Linked DNA regions of Homo sapiens: regions 1 and 3 are each linked to region 2. The links are contacts of gene promoters, found by promoter capture Hi-C in blood cells and fetal thymus (Javierre and others, 2016). All regions are on one chromosome and are shown on one strand. Each heading gives the region's core, a stretch centred on a gene start or on the middle of the fragment in contact. The rest is flanking DNA. Distances are from core to core; before and after follow the strand shown.

Evidence for each region. The method cuts DNA at HindIII sites, captures the fragments that hold promoters and counts their contacts. A CHiCAGO score of 5 or more calls a contact.
Region 1: a contact is called between a fragment that was not itself captured here and the fragment with the promoter of POLE2 in region 2, in 2 of 17 cell types (megakaryocytes and erythroblasts). The highest score is 7.5, in megakaryocytes.
Region 3: a contact is called between a fragment that was not itself captured here and the fragment with the promoter of POLE2 in region 2, in 1 of 17 cell types (erythroblasts). The highest score is 5.7, in erythroblasts.

Annotation. Positions count from the first base shown.
Region 1 is chr14:49,827,081-49,829,780 of GRCh38, forward strand. It overlaps NEMF (nuclear export mediator factor), which reads right to left. Exons shown (of 33, transcript NM_004713.6): 12 at 2,269-2,346; 13 at 1,974-2,182; 14 at 1,536-1,727; 15 at 1,211-1,274. Among named protein-coding and RNA genes, the nearest start is that of NEMF, 24 kb to the right of the region's middle. The HindIII fragment of the contact is 5,222 bases long and covers 1-2,700 here.
Region 2 is chr14:49,686,888-49,689,587 of GRCh38, forward strand. It overlaps POLE2 (DNA polymerase epsilon 2, accessory subunit), which reads right to left and starts at 1,327. Exons shown (of 19, transcript NM_002692.4): 1 at 1,249-1,327. The coding sequence starts at 1,316. RefSeq lists enhancers at 564-1,325, 1,326-2,085 and a silencer at 1,390-1,439. The HindIII fragment of the contact is 3,892 bases long and covers 1-2,700 here.
Region 3 is chr14:49,847,527-49,850,226 of GRCh38, forward strand. All of the region lies in intron 3 of NEMF (nuclear export mediator factor), which reads right to left. Among named protein-coding and RNA genes, the nearest start is that of NEMF, 3.9 kb to the right of the region's middle. The HindIII fragment of the contact is 1,129 bases long and covers 699-1,827 here.

The sequences.
Region 1 (2,700 bases), core at 56-2,555, 140 kb after region 2:
AGGGGAGGAGATCTCCCGTCCTTCTTGCAGGATAGGAGAAGGGCTCTGAATTGTATTAAGATGGGAAGCAACTGGAAGAGAAAAAGGACTTCACTTTTGATTTATTTATTTTAATATATTTTTTGAGACGGAGTCTCGCTCTGTCTCCCAGGCTAGAGTGCAATGGCATGATCTCAGCTCACTGCAACCTCCACCTCCCGGGTTCATTAGATTCTCCCACCTCAGCCGCCCAAGTAGCTGGGATTACAGGTACCCGCCATCACCTCAGGCTAATTTTTGTATTTTCAGTAGATATGGGGTTTCACCATGTTGGCCAGGCTGGTCTCAAACTCCTGGCTTCAAGCGATCCACCGGCCTCGGCCTTCCAAAGTGCTGGAATTACAGGCGTCAACCACCACACCCAGTCTTCACTTTTGATTCAAAAGGATCACAACGGGGCTAGGCATGGTGGCTCACACCTGTAATCCCAGCACTTTGGGAGGCCGAAGGTCAAGGCCTGAAGCGGGCGGATCACCTGAGGTCAGCAGTTTGAGACCAAGCTGACCAACATGGTGAAACCCTGTCTCTACTAAAACTACAAAAATTAGCTGGGTGTGGTGGCGGGCGCCTGTAATCCCAGCTACTTAGGAGGCTGAGGTGGGAGAATCGCTTGAACCTGGGAGGCAGAAGTTGCAGTGAGCTGAGATCAAGCCATTGCACTCCAGCCTGAGCAATAAGAGTGAAACTCCATCGCAAAAAAAAAAAAGGGTCACAATGGCTGCTATGTGGAGAACAGACTGTAGTGGGAAAAGAGGAGGAGGAGAGAGATCCAATAAGAGGCTACTTGTCATAGTCCATGTGAACACAGAGGTGATAGGGGACTGATCAGTGGAAATAATGAGTAGTAGCCAGATTCTGGCTGTACTTTAAAGAAAGAACCAAAGGATTTACTGATGGATTGCATGATTTATGGGAAAAGAGTCCAGGATATCACAAACATTTTTAACCTGAGTGAACAGAAAAATGAAGGTGTTATTTACTGAGATGAGGAAGAATAGGGGAGGAGCAGTCCTGGGGGGAAAAAATACTGGAAATACATATATTTAAAGCAAAGTTAAGTTTGAAAGATACTTCTGAATTAGAAAACCTCATTTAAACAGAAGAAATAATTATGTCCATTAAATTACGCAGGCACAAACAACTAACATTCACTCTAAGAAATACTCAGTACCTTCTCAGCAGCTTCAACAGTCTTTTGTGTTTTCTTAGCAGCATATCTCTTGTGATCATAATACCTAGAAAAACATATTTCTCTTAAATTTTAAGTATAATATTTATTCTTCAGTTTTCTACTTAGTTCTAACTTGACAAATTCTCAAATTATACAGAACAAATCAGAACAAACTGTATAATTAACAAAACTAAATTTAAAAAAGTATTTTCACCCAAAAAAAGTATGCATGTACAAGTGAAATTTAAAATTTTTTAAAATGTCCTTAATTCCTTAATTTATTGCAGATAACACTTGGCCTAAAATGTAAAGTTAAATGACTTACTTTTTGGCATTGGCATATGCTGACAAGCTGAGATCAACATCTACAAGTAAGGGCTTATTTTTCTGAGGCTTCTGCAGCTGTTTATTCTTTTGTTTTTTCTTTTTTCCTTTTGGTGGTTCAGTTTCATTTTTCTCAACATTGACGTCACCATCAACATCATCATCTTCCTCCTCTGATAACAAGTATGGATTTCTATTAAAAATATTCAATAGCATTTCACTAACGTCAATGACATCACTTTTATTTTCAATTTTCTTCTTCAATAAAATTATAAATGGTTTACAGTACTGGAAGTTTCATTATTTATTTTAATCTAAATTAGTTTTTTCCCTTTCTTTGAGAATTTCAAAATATGAAGAAAAAATGTTTAATACAGTGAACAATTAAAATAACAAAATAAAGACAAGCATTAACTGCTTGACTAAGAGTCAAACTTACCTTAGCAGCATTGTAACATGGTTTGTTTGTAGTTTTAATTCTTTGATTGCACTTGCAACAGGGTCTCCTTGAGCCTGGGCTTCTTTCACAATTAACCCAATTTCTGTCCAATCTATCTGGTTAGCTAAAGCACTTCGAACTACCTGAATGGCTCTGTCAACTATTTGTAGGTTCATTTCTATGAGCTCTCCTTTCAGTTTGTCTATTTCCTTAAAAAACAAACCACACACATTTACTACATTGCCAGTTAAAGTTAACATTTTTGAAAAAGCACTGAGAAAGCCAAACATAATACCTGAGCCTGCTGAAGAGCTTCCAATCTGTTTTCGTGATCCTTTCGAACATTATCTAATTTCTTCAATGCTTGCTTTTCCTTTTATTGGCAAAACAGATTTTTTAAAAATTAGATTTCTCCTACCTCATGACATCCCTCTCTTACTTCCCAACACTCACTATCCTGACCCCATCTATGCTGTTATCTAGCTAGCTGAAGTTCCCATAGTCTACCACCCTAGGCCTATCCCACTACAATGCGTTCCATGCCCCAAAATTACTTCTCCTGTCTTCCTAACTCCCACTCCTTATATAGAAAGGTATTTTGATTACAGGTTACTGTGTATATAAGATATACCCCTAATACCCTTGGCATTATTCAAACAGGCAGAAATCAAGACATTTTTTCCTATGGCACAAAAGTAAAGTTTGGGAGAACGAATTCTTTATTTTT
Region 2 (2,700 bases), core at 77-2,576:
ATAAAACTCACAAAACCAACCAAAAATCTACACACACAAAAGCAATAAAAACTGATACAGAGAGGTATATCCAATCCAGCAGGTATTTCAATATGTATAAAATATTGTGTTCTAGGTCAGGCGCAGTGGTTCACGCCTGTAATTCCAGCATTCTGGGAGGCCACGGCGCGAGGACTACTTGAGCCCAGGAGTTCAAGACCAGCCTGGGCAACATAGCCAGACCCCGTCTCTAAAAAACATACAACAACAAAAAATCAGCCAGGTATGGTGGCCCATGCCTGCAGTCCCAGCTACTTCAGCCCAGGAGGTTGAGGCTGCAGTAAGTCAAGTTCGCATCACTGCCCTCCAGCTTGGGCGAGAGTGAGACCATGACTCAAAAAAAAAAAAATACATATATATATATACACACACACCACACACACACACACACACACACACACACACACACACGTACATATAGAACTCTAAAACACGGAGCAGATTTAATGAGAGAAATCTTGGGAAGGTTCATATGTTCTATAGGTCCTCAAAAACACGGATATGCCCAGGAAACCTGACTTTCACATAAATTGGCAACTGCAGACGTGCAAGTGGGCTTTCTCGGGTCTCTCATCTTATGTCTCAGCAACCTTCCCGGGAGCCTGAGAGCTGTCCAGGTCACAATGTTGATAACCGGCTGCCATAGATAGGTTGCAGCTTCTCGGGCTCAGTTTGACATGTGCAGAAGAGCCTCGGCCCGCCTAGAAGAAACATTAAACTCCTCGCATGGGTCGGGGAAACCAAAGAAGGCACGGCAGCCTCAAGATCCACCTCGCTTCTTAGAACTTTTTTTTAATGGAGTCTCTCTCTGTCGCCAGGATGGAGTAGAGTGGCACGATATCGGCTCACCGCAACCTCCTCCTCCCGGGTTCAAGCGATTCTCCTGCCTCAGCCTCCCAACTAACTGGGACTACAAGCGCGCGCCACCACGCCCAGCTAATTTTTGTATTTTTAGTAGAGACGGGGCTTCACCATGTTGGCCAGGATGGTCTCGATCTCCTGACCTCGTGATCCGCCCGCCTCGACCTCCCAAAGTGCTGGGATTACAAGCGTGAGCCACCGCGCCCGACCGCTTCTTAGAACTCTGAAATTTAAGGTCAAGCCCCCTCTCGGCGCGCGGGGAGCCGCCGCGGTGCGTCCCGCTGCCGCACCAGGCAGACGGGCCCCAGCTCTTCCCTCTCGCCCTTCAAGCTGCCCGAGCCCACTCACCCACGGAGCAGCAAGCCCCGCAACTTGAAGGCGGAGAGCGCCCGGCTCCGCAGCCGCTCCGGCGCCATATTTGCGATTTGGCGCCACCGCCGCAGCTCCGCCCCTTCCCGGGCGCGCCCCTCCCAGCTCCGGCCTCGGCCCTGGCCCGCGTGGCGCTAAACCCTGTTAAGATCCCTGCTTGGTCTCCGCTGCCTGCGCCGCAGCAACTCAGACCTTACAGTTCGCAACCCCGGACCGAGTAGGCTGAAAGTGGAGACCACCTCGCGCTCCTTTGCTGCCGGGAAACTGAGGGCCAGAGCGTCTTCCCTGGTGTCGGGCTGCGTTGAGCCAGCCACAGCGCTCTCACCGCTGCCCTAGACATTGCAGGACTGCGGCCGAGCTTCCCGGACACAGGATCCCCCTTCTTTCGAGGCCATGAGAGCTGTTGGGTTCCCTACTTCGCACAAGCTCTGGAAATACTGTGCCTCGACATTTACCGGAAGCTGTTATAAATCTCCATCGCTCCCACCTACCCCGATTTTTATTTAACTTGAGGGCTTCGTATGCGCCATGCACTGTCATAAGCACTTTAAATGTGTGAATTCATGTGTTGCTCATGACAGCCCAGTGAGCTGTCTACTGTCTTTTCCACAACAGCCTCATTTTACAGATGAGAAAACTGAGACACAAAAATGGTAAAGGACTTGCTCAAGATGAAACGACGAGTTAAATGGTGTAGTCAGGATTTGAACTCAGTTATTCTGATTTCAGGTGGACTGTCAATCTGCCACACTTCAAAACGCTTGCTCCAATGAGTTGACTAACCCGTGGAGTGCTTATAAGTAAACACGCGGCTTATAAAACAGGAGGATGATTTCACAGTACCAATATAAAGTGACCTCCAACGTATACGGGTTTTTTTCTTTTTTAAAAAAAAGCGAAGTTTAATGAAGGAAGGGAAACAAAAGTATATGTATTTGTTTTTGCATTTTAAAAACCTCTGGGCCCGGGCGCGGTGGCTCACATCTGTAATCCCAGAACTTTGGGAGGCCGATGCTGGCAGATCACTTGAGGCCAAGAGTTCGAGAACAGCCGGGCCAACATGGTGAAACCCCGTCTCTACCAAAAAAAAAAAAAAAAAAAAAAAATTAGCCAGGCGTGGTGGCGCGCGCCTGTAATCCCAGCTCCTGGGGAGGTTGAGGCAGGAGAATCTCTTGAGCCTCGGAGGCGGAGGGTGCAGTGAGCCGAGATCGTGCCACCACTCCAGCCTGGGCAACAAAGCAAGGCTCTGTCTCAAAAACAAAAAAAGCCGGGCGCAGTGGTTCACGCCTGTAATCCCAGCACTTTGGGAGGCCGAGGTGGGCGGATCATCTGAGGTCAGGAGTTCGAGACCAGCCTGACCAACATGGAGAAACCCCGTCTCTACAAAAATACAAAAAAATTAGCCAGGCATGGTGGCGCATGCCTGTAATC
Region 3 (2,700 bases), core at 13-2,512, 160 kb after region 2:
TGATGACACTTCTAAGTATGCCAAATTTCCCTTTTGTATGCTTCATTTATGTTCAAAATTAATTAATTGTTTCCACTAATCTTCTACTTCTAATACATATCAACTATGGACCATGAGCTTATGGCTTATGGTATCCTGTAAATAGTCCACCACCTTATATCCAGTTACCCCTACCAATTCTTTTTTTTTTTTTTTTTTTTTTTTTTTTCTTTAAGAGAGTCTTTGCCAGGAGCGGTGGCTCAGGCCTGTAATCCCAACACTTTGGGAGGCCGAGGTAGGTGGATCACTTGAGGTCAGGAGTTCAAGACCAGCCTGGCCAATATGGTGAAACCCCATCTCTACTAAAAATACAAAAATTAGCTGGGCGTGCTGGCGCATGCCTGTAATCCCAGCTACTCAGGAGGCTGAGGCAAAAGAATCGCTTGAACCCAAGAGGCGGAGGTTACAGTGAGCCGAGATGACACTACTGCAATCCAGCCTGGGCAACAGAGCAAGACTCTGTCTCAAAAAAAAAAAAAAAAAAGAAAGGGACAGAGTCTCTCTGTTGCCCAGGCAAGGCTCAAACTCCTGGACTCAAGCAATCTCCCACCTTAGCCTCCCAAGTAGCTAGGATTACAAGTGCCCTGCCACTGTGCCCAGCTTATTCCTACAAACTTTACTAATATAACCCAAAGAGAATTTTCCTGGTATCGTCTCTAAGCTTTTGATAACCTATTTCAATCCAATGTAATAACTCTCATTCTTTATTAAATCCCCTTCCTCCTATCCCTGGCCATAAGGTTCTTTTTCTTATTAACAATTAAAATAATATTAGTATATCAAATCCAAATACAATTTACTTGGCAATACCTACTCTTTTAGATTACATGTACCGTCTTTTTGTACAAATATTGAAGTATGACATGGACTGGTAACAAGACTACTCTGTAGCCTCTAAAATATCTTACAATTGTTTCTAATTTTTTAATATAAAAGACCCTTTAGTTAAGACCAATAAGAAAGAATGCTTTCTTCAAGACTCAAATACGGTCTGGGTATGGCAGCTCACGCCTGTAATCCCAGCACTCTGGGAGGCCGAGGCAGGCGGATCACAACGTCAGGAGTTCAAGACCAGCCTGGCCAACATGGTGAAACCCCATCTCTACTAAAAATACAAAAATTAGCCAGGCATGGTGGCGTGTGCCTGTAATCCCAGCTACTTGGGAGGCTGAGACACGAGAATCACTTGAACCCAGGAGACTGAAGTTGCAGTGAGCCAAGACTGCGCCACTGCCCTCCAGCCTGGTGACAGAGCAAGACTCCGTCTCAAAAAAAAAAAAAAAAAAAAAGACTTAAATACGAAACAAATTTTACAGAAGTTAATCTAAGACCACCTTCAAAAAAAAGACAAAAAATCCACTCCTTGACAAAGGTTGAAAAAAAACAACAATAAACACATAAATTCATTATTAAAATTAATGCTAACATTTTCATAACTAAGAAGAGTTCTTCTCCAGACCTTATAGCCCAAATTGACTGAAATTCGCATTTTATATACTCACATAGGCAGAATAACTTCCTAGGATAAACAATCTGCTCCTCCTTAACTCAGTAGTTTTAAGAATGACCTATACTGATTTGATTAAACAGTAACCTACATGTAGGGCTATCTTTAAATCCCTAGAGGAAAATCACAATCAGTTCTTCCAGAGTCCCTGAGTAATAATTTTATTCAAGAAAAATAAAGACAAAAGGCATCATTGAAAGGACAGAAGTTCACACAAAGGAATAGTAAAAAGGGGATTATTTATCATGGAGAGTACAGATGGACACATAGTACATATTTAAAGCTTGTTTCATTTCCCTATCAACAGCTTGGTGAAATCAACCTGCTGCTGTGTGCCACAAAGCTATAGCTGTCATCCCCAAATGTGAATACTGGAACAACCACTGTGATTTATCACATAATAGACATAACTCTGCCTGTGCCATGCAACAGTAACAGCTCTTTGATTTATAAAGTGCTTAACATTGTCTGCTCCATTGAGGAAATCTTTCTATACATTTAGATTGACACGTACACCTAACCCATAGAATTCTAAGTATTTTTTAAAGTGACTGACCTATTAGTGTAGTCTGATTTGGAGATGTTTACACAATCCCAGTGTCCTATTTCATTGGCCTGTTACCTCATCCATAAAACTGAAATTGTATTTGTTCTTCACAGTCCACTGAGTTGCTAAACAACTTAAATGAAATACATATTATTCATCTGCCTTAAAAAGTGCTACACAACAGGTAGCATTATTATTGTCATTATTATTAAGGACAGGCCCCAAAAGAACTATTTTGGGTTACTATTAAATAAATTAAACTTTAATAATCTGAGAATTTTGTGAAAGCCCTTGTGATATGGAAACACTTACCTAATTTGTAATCCAAAACAGACTCTAAATTGCTGGGGGGTAAAGCTCTTCTCTGTAAAGCCTCTAATGAAATAACTCAATGCCATAACAGATACATTGCCAAAGTAAGGAGCGGAGCAGGAAGGAAATGAACATGTATGGAGTTCTAATATGTGTCAGGTATTGTTTCAGGTGCCTTTCTTTTTTTTTTAGATGGAGTCTCGCTCTGTCGCCCAGGCTGGAGTGAAACAGTGCGAACTCAGCTGACTGCAATCTCTATCTCCCAGGTTCAAGTGGTTCTCCTGCCCCATCCTCC